Linked DNA regions of Homo sapiens: region 2 is linked to region 1. Evidence: promoter capture Hi-C in 16 types of primary human blood cells and fetal thymus (Javierre and others, 2016). All regions are on one chromosome and are shown on one strand. Each heading gives the region's core, a stretch centred on a gene start or on the middle of the fragment in contact. The rest is flanking DNA. Distances are from core to core; before and after follow the strand shown. Region 1 holds the start of TMEM270 (transmembrane protein 270). Region 2 has its middle 19 kb from the start of CLDN4.

Region 1 (3,453 bases), core at 701-3,200:
CCAAAGGGTCCAGCAGGGAGAAGAATTAGGGTAGAGCTAGGAAATAGGACCTCCCAGGTTATGGTGCTGAGACCAGGGAGGAGGGAAACCTATGATATCCCACATGATCCCACAAGATCATTTCTATAGGAGAGGAAACGGGCTCAGAGTGGTGAAGTGATTTGCCCAAATTCACACAGCTAGAGGGTAAAACAGCCAAGATGCAAATCTTTTTTTTTTTTTTTTTTTTTTTTTTTCTGAGACAGGGTTTTGCTCTTGTTGCCCAGGGTTGCCCAGGCTGGAGTGCAATGGTGGGATCTCGGCTCACCGCAACCTCCGCCTCCCAGGTTCAAGCGATTCTCCTGCCTCAGCCTCTTGAGTAGCTGGGATTACAGGCATGCACCACCACGCGTGGCTAATTTTGTATTTTTAGTAGAGACAAGGTTTCTTCATGTTAGTCAGGCTGGTCTGGAACTCCTGACCTCAGGTGATCTGCCCGCCTCGGCCTCCCAAAGTGCTGGGATTACAGGTGTGAGCCACAGCTCCCGGTCCCAAGATGCAAATCTAATGGTGTCTGTCTTTCTCAACTGCCCCCTGTTATATGATCTTGGCTGACTGCAGCCTTGGCCTCCCAGGCTCAATCTATACTCCCACCTCGGCCTCCTAAGTGTGACTGAGTTGTGACCCCGACCACAAGCATGTGTATGTTTAAAAGAGATGAATGGGCCAGGTGCGGTGGCTCACACCTGTAATCCCAGAACTTTGGGAGGCCGAGGTGGGTGGATTACGAGGTCAGGAGTTTGAGACCAGCCTGGCCAATGCGGTGAAACCCTGTCTCTACTAAAGATACAAAAAATTAGCTGGGCGTGGTGGCGCACGCCTGTAATCCCAGCTACTTGGAAGGCTGAGGCAGGAGAATTGCTTGAACCTGGAGGTGGAAGTTGCAGTGAGCCGAGATCGCACCATTACACTGCAGCCTGCGCGACAGGGCAAGACTGCATCTGAAAAAAAAAAAAAGAGAGAGAGATGAATGAGCCAGGCGCAGTGGCTTATGTCTGTAATCCCAGCACTTTGGGGAGCTGAGGCGGGCAGATCACAAGGTCAGGAGATCGAGACCATCCTGGCTAACAGGGTCTCTACTAAAAATACAAAAAAAAAAAAAAATTAGCCAGGGATGATGGCACGTGCCTGTAGTCCCAGCTACTTGGGAGGCTGAGGCAGAAGAACTGCTTGAACCCAGGAGGCAGAGGTTGCAGTGAGCCGAGATCGCACCACTGCACTCCAGCCTGGGCAACAGAGCGAGACTCTGTCTCAAAAAAAAGAAAAAATGAATGGGAAAAACAATGATTCACCCATAGGAGTGACCCTCAATAGAGAAAATGCTGCCAGGTGCGGTGGCTCACACCTATAATCCCAGCACCTCAGGAAGCTGAGGTAGGAGGATCATGTGAGGCCAAGAGTTGGAGACCCGCCTGGGCAACGTAGTGAGACACCATCTCTACAAAATACAAAAATTAGTCAGGCGTGGTGGTGCACACCTATAGTCCCGGCTACTTGGAGGCTGAGGGGGGAGGATTGCTTGAGACCGGGAGTTGGAGGCTGCAACGAGCTGAGCCGGCACCACTGCGCTCCAGGCTGGGCGACAGAGCGAGACCCTGTCTCTAAATAAAGAAAAGAAAAGAAAATGTCAGCACTGTAGTTTGGAGTGGGGCTTCTGGGAGATGTCAGATTATTCTGGAAGGCAGGCAGCCACCTCGTTCCACTGGATGGGACAGGCAGGGCTTGGGCCCGGCAGCTCTGAGGTGGCTCTGTGAAGGGCCTGGTGTGTGGTCCCCACCCCACTTACCCCCAGCCCCCACTCACCAGCACTGAGAGCCTCGTAACCTGCAACAGGATCCCCAAAAGGCTGGATCTGACTGGAGGAAGGGCCTCCATGTCTGGCCTCCCCCACCTACTCCAGCTGGGAGAAGCAGGGTGACCTCACAGATGCCACAGGGTGGGGACCAAGTTACCATGGGGACCCGGTTGCCGCCAGTGACCCACTGCCTTTACCTGGCTCCTGCCGCTCCACTGCTTCCTCTGAAACCTCAGTCCACGTCTGAGCCCAACACGGCCAAGGAGGTCTTAGAGCAAAGCTTCCTTCGGGTCGGATTTCCCCAGATCTTGGAACAGGAATCAAGTGCCGCCTAGGAACGGGGTTCATGCCTGGATTCCCAATGCTTTGGGAGGCCAAGGTAGGAGGATCGCTTGAGGCCAGGAGTTTGAGACCAGCATGGGCAACATAGCAAGACCCTGTCTTACAAAAAAACAAAAAAAGAAAAAAATTAACCAGCCTTGGTCATGCACACCTGTAGTCCCAACTACTCAGGAGTCTAAAGTGGGAGAATCGCTTGAGCCCAGGAGATAGAAGTTGCAGTGAGCCAGGATCACTCAAGCCTGGGTGACAGAGCAAGACCCTATCTCTAAACAAAGAAAAAAAATTGAAGGGTGATGAGTTTATTTGGGGAGTGGGCCCTGCAAGCATCCATAGGAAGTCAGAAAGTGAGGCAAGGGGCCAGGCACAGTGGCTCACACCTGTAATCCCAGCACTTTGGAAGGCCGAGGCAGGCAGATCACGAGGTCAGGAGTTTGAGACCTGTTGGGAACAGGCCCCCAAAATCTGGCCATAAACTGGCCCCAAAACTGGCCATAAACAAAATCTCTGCAGCACTGTGACATGTTCGTGATGGCCATGACACCCACGGTGGAAGGTTGTGGGTTTACCGGAATGAGGGCAAGGAACACCTGGCCCACCCAGGGCGGAAAACTGCTTAAAGGCGTTCTTAAACCACAAACAAGAGCATGAGTGATCTGTGCCTTAAGGACATGCTCCTGCTGCAGATAACTAGCCAAACACATCCCTTTATTTGGGCCCAATCCCTTTGTTTCCCATAAGGGATACTTCTATGGGAATCTAATCTAATCTATAGTTAATCTAATATCTATAGAAACAATGCTAATGACTGGCTTGCTGTTAATAAATACGTGGGTAAATCTCCGTTTGAGGCTCTCAGCTCTGAAGGCTGTGAGACCCCCTGATTTCCCACTTCACACCTCTTTATTTCTCTGTGTGTGTGTGTGTGTGTGTGTGTGTGTGTGTGTGTGTTTAATTCCTCTAGTGCTGCTGGGTTAGGGTCTCCCCAGCCAAGCTGGTCTCAGCAGAGACCAGCCTGACCAACATGGTGAAACCCCGTCTCTACTAAAAATACAAAAAAAAAAAAAAATTGGCCTGGCATGGTGGCGTGCACCTATAATCTCAGCTGCTCAGGAGGCTGAGGCAGGAGAATTGCTTGAACCCAGAAGGCAGAGGTTGCAGTGAGCTGAGATCATGCCACTGTACTCCAGCCTGGGCAAGAGAGTGAGACTCTGTGATAAAAAGAGGGAAGGGGAGGGGAGGGGAGGGGAGGGGGAGAGAGAGAGAGAGAGAAAGAAAGA
Region 2 (3,642 bases), core at 976-3,475, 49 kb after region 1:
ATTTTTGTATGTTTAGTAGAGACAAGGTTTCACCATGTTGGCCAGGCTGGTCTCGAACCCCTGACCTCAGGTGATCCACCTGCCTCAGCCTCCCAAAGTGCTGGGATTACAGGCATGAGCCACCGTGCCTGGCCCAAGCCCAGAAGCTTGAAGCTGCAGTGAGCCATGACTGGGCCACTGCACTCCAGCCTGGGTGACAGAGTAAGCCCCTGTTTCTTAACAAAAAGAGAAATTCCAAACCCTTTATCCCTATTCCATATATTTCATATATCCCTAAGTGATTAATCTTTCTGTCATGATGGATTTGCCTATTCTGGACATTTCAAAGTAGGCATGGAATCATAGGTCTATGAAATGTCCAGAATCATGGAATCAATAATCACATATTATAGAGGCTTTGTGTCTGGTTTCTTTCACTTAGCATAATGTGTAACCAGGGTGTGTAACCATAACAAGCATCAAGTCTACCCAAGTTTGTTTCCAAGACATTACTGAGCCCCAAACTCACTTATGCTAGGGAGGAACTCAGAAACCCATAGGGCAGTTCTCCAAGGGCTTCTGGTCAGGCCATGGACATTCAGGAGGTGGTCAGAGCTGCCTGAGATGACGCAGGGCTGTGATAAGGGTGTGGAGACACAGCAAGGTAGTGGAAATTCAGGGTTCCTAGGTCCAGCATGTCCAAAAAAAAAAAAAAAAAAAAAAACCACAGCCTGCTAAAACAAAAATATCAACATTCTCCATAGAATTGTATAAAGATCCAGATTCCTATATCCTAATATTTAAAATATCTTGGAGACACTCCAAAATTACTCAGCATACAAAGAGCCGGGAGAATTTCAACTCACAGGAGAAAAGACTATCAACAGTGGTCAATGTTGAGATGACAAAACATTGGAAATATCAGATCAAGACTTTAAAGCAATTATTATCAAAATGTTGCAAGAAAGGCCAACACTCTTGAAATCAATGGAAATATAGAAAGTCTTTGCAAAGAAGAGAAGATGTAAAGAAGAGCCAAACAATTTTTTGTTTTCTTTTGAGACAGGGTCTCCCTCTGTCACCCAGGCTGGAGTACAGTGGCATGATCATAGTTCACTACAGCCTCGACCTCCCAGGTTCAAGTGATCCTCTCACGTCAGCCTCCAGAGTAGCCAAGACTACAGACATGAGCCACCACACTGTCAATATTTTATTTTTTTGTAGAAATGAGGTCTCGCTATGTTGCCCAGGCTGGTCTCAAACTCCTGGTCTCAAGAGATCCTCCCGCCTCGGCCTCCCAAAGTGCTGGGACTACAGGCATGAGCCACTGCACCCAGCCCCAAACAGAAATTTTACATGTCTGTAATTCTAGCACTTTGGGAGGCAAAGGCAGGAAGATCTCTTGAGTCCAGCAGTTCAAGACCTGCCTGGGTGACAAAGCAAGACCCCATATCTACAAAAAAATTAAAAATTAGCCAGGCATGGTGGCTTGTGCCTGTGGTCCCAGCTACTCGGGAAGCTGAGATGGGAGGATTGTTTGAGCCCAGAAGGAGGCTGCAGTGAGCCATGACTGCACCACTGCATTCCAGCCTGGGTGACAGAACAAGACCCTGTATAAAAAATAAATAAATAAATGAAAATAAAAAAATTTAAATAAAGTTTAGAACTGAACAATATAATAACCGCAATGATAAAACAAAGCCAGGCTGGGCACGGTGGCTCAAGTCTGTAATCCCAGCACTTTGGAGGCCAAGGCAGGTGGATCACCTGACGTTAGGAGTTCAAGATCAGCCTAGCCAACATGGTGAAACCTCGTCTCTACTAAAAATACAAAAATTAGCCGGGCGTGGTGGTGGGTGCCTGTAATCCCAGCTACTCAGGAGGCTGAAGCAGGAGAATCGCTTGAACCAGGGAGGCAGAGGTTGCAGTGAGCTGAGGTCGCACCACTGCACTCCAGCCTGGACGACAGAGTGAGATTCCCTCTAAAATAATAATAATAATACAACAAAACCTTGAATGAGCTCAAAAGTAGAATAGAGATAATGAAGTCAGTGAACTTGACGTAGATGGGGAAAAAAGCAAAAAACCAAAAAGTCAGTCAAATGGTAGCTAATTCCTATTCTAAGCAATGCACCCAACCATAAATCCCTGTCCAGAAGGAGCAGGGACCTCCAGCAAGTAGGCAGCGTCCCTGGCCATGGTTCTGGCAAACGCTGTGTGTCAATGCTCTCCTCAAGGCTGGGCCAGCCCACGGCCGCGGTGACTCTCCCTAGAGTCGCCCTCGCCTGTTTGCTTGTGGGAACTGCAGCATCCAGGGTGTCCCACACCCGTTGATGGGAATTTTGAAAATCGCACCTGTGCTAGTGGCAGGTGGAGGGGTAGAGAGGGAGAATTGTAACCGGCTGCCCCAAACACCCCCAAATTGGCTGTTTTAATGGTGAGCCAGAGGTAGGATTTGGAAATTCTTCTTCTTTTTTTTAATGAGACGGAGTCTTGCTCTGTCATCCAGGCTGGAGTGCAGTGGCAAGCTCTCAGTTCACTGCAGCCTCTGCCTCCTGGGTGCAAGTGATTCTCCTGCCTCAGCCTCCCGAGTAGCTGGGATTACAGGCACACGCCACCACACCTGGCTAATTTTTGTATTTTTAGTAGAGATGGGGTTTCACCATGTTGGCCAGGCTGGTCTGGAACTTCTGATCTCAGGTGATCCCCTCGCCTCAGCCTCCTATAATCCCAGGCGGGAGCCACCGCACCTGTCTGTTTGCAAATTCTTTTGACAAGTTGCTCATCATGGTGAAAAGTAAAAGTTGCCCAGTGCTCTGTATATGGCTAAGGCTGTGGGTCTATCCTTCCCAGGGTCTGGCTGGGAAGGTGATGGCTGCCTGATTCCTGGACTGGGCACGGTGCCCCCTTGGGTGTTTGCGGACGGCACAGCAAGTGTGGCCAAGGCTCTGGGAGAGGCTGAAGAGGTGGCCACCCAGGGGCAGGACTGCCAGGTCCCTGGGAAGGTCAAAAGGCAAGAGGGTAACCCACCCTTGGGGGAGCAGCTATGGCCCCAGGAGTAGGGGAGGATCCCCAGTGGAGGCAGGTGTCACTGCAGCCCTGGGCTAATGGGCTCTGGAAGGTGGGGAGGGGGGTGGGGGCGAGAAAGAAGGGGAGGAGGAGGAGAGGCGGGAGCTGTTCTGAGCCCCTGGGGTGATGTGATTGGCATTGCGGCCCCTTCCTCCTCCCCTCCCCATCACCCTCTCAGCCCCAACCACCCCACCAGGGCCTGGGAGGATGGCAGAAACCCCAGCCACATGTTCATAATGGAATAGAGAGCCAGCCAGGCCAAGACAAGCTGGCAGACCCCAGACATGCCCTGCCCCCACCCTGAGCCCCTTCCCCTCTCTTAGCCGCCTCGCCAAGCCAGGCCCTCCCACCCCAGGGAGCGAGAGGGCAGGGAAGTGACAGGACAGAAGGGTAGGGGACTTTAAGAGGGAGGGGCAGTGGAGGGAGGGGGTGCGGGGGAACTGGGAGGGGAAGGGTCTCCAGGAGAAGAGGAGCTTCAGATAGGGGAGGGGGCTCTTGGAGAGGAATGGGGCTCAGGGAAGAAAGGGGAGCTTACAGAGGGGAGTCTGGGAGTGGAGGGGGCCTGGGGCATAGTCCTGCAGGGGAAGGGGCTCC

Evidence for each region. Contacts are between HindIII fragments. The CHiCAGO score rates a contact against its expected background, and 5 or more counts as called.
Region 2: a fragment that was not itself captured here is called in contact with the fragment with the promoter of TMEM270 in region 1 in 1 of 17 cell types (erythroblasts); the score reaches 5.0 in erythroblasts.

The regions. Positions count from the first base shown.
Region 1 is chr7:73,859,656-73,863,108 of GRCh38, reverse strand. It overlaps TMEM270 (transmembrane protein 270), which reads right to left and starts at 1,950. Exons shown (of 3, transcript NM_182504.4): 1 at 1,843-1,950. The coding sequence starts at 1,914. The HindIII fragment of the contact is 5,367 bases long and covers 1-2,116 here.
Region 2 is chr7:73,810,504-73,814,145 of GRCh38, reverse strand. No RefSeq gene overlaps it. Among named protein-coding and RNA genes, the nearest start is that of CLDN4, 19 kb to the left of the region's middle. RefSeq lists a silencer at 2,150-2,259. The HindIII fragment of the contact is 4,153 bases long and covers 149-3,642 here.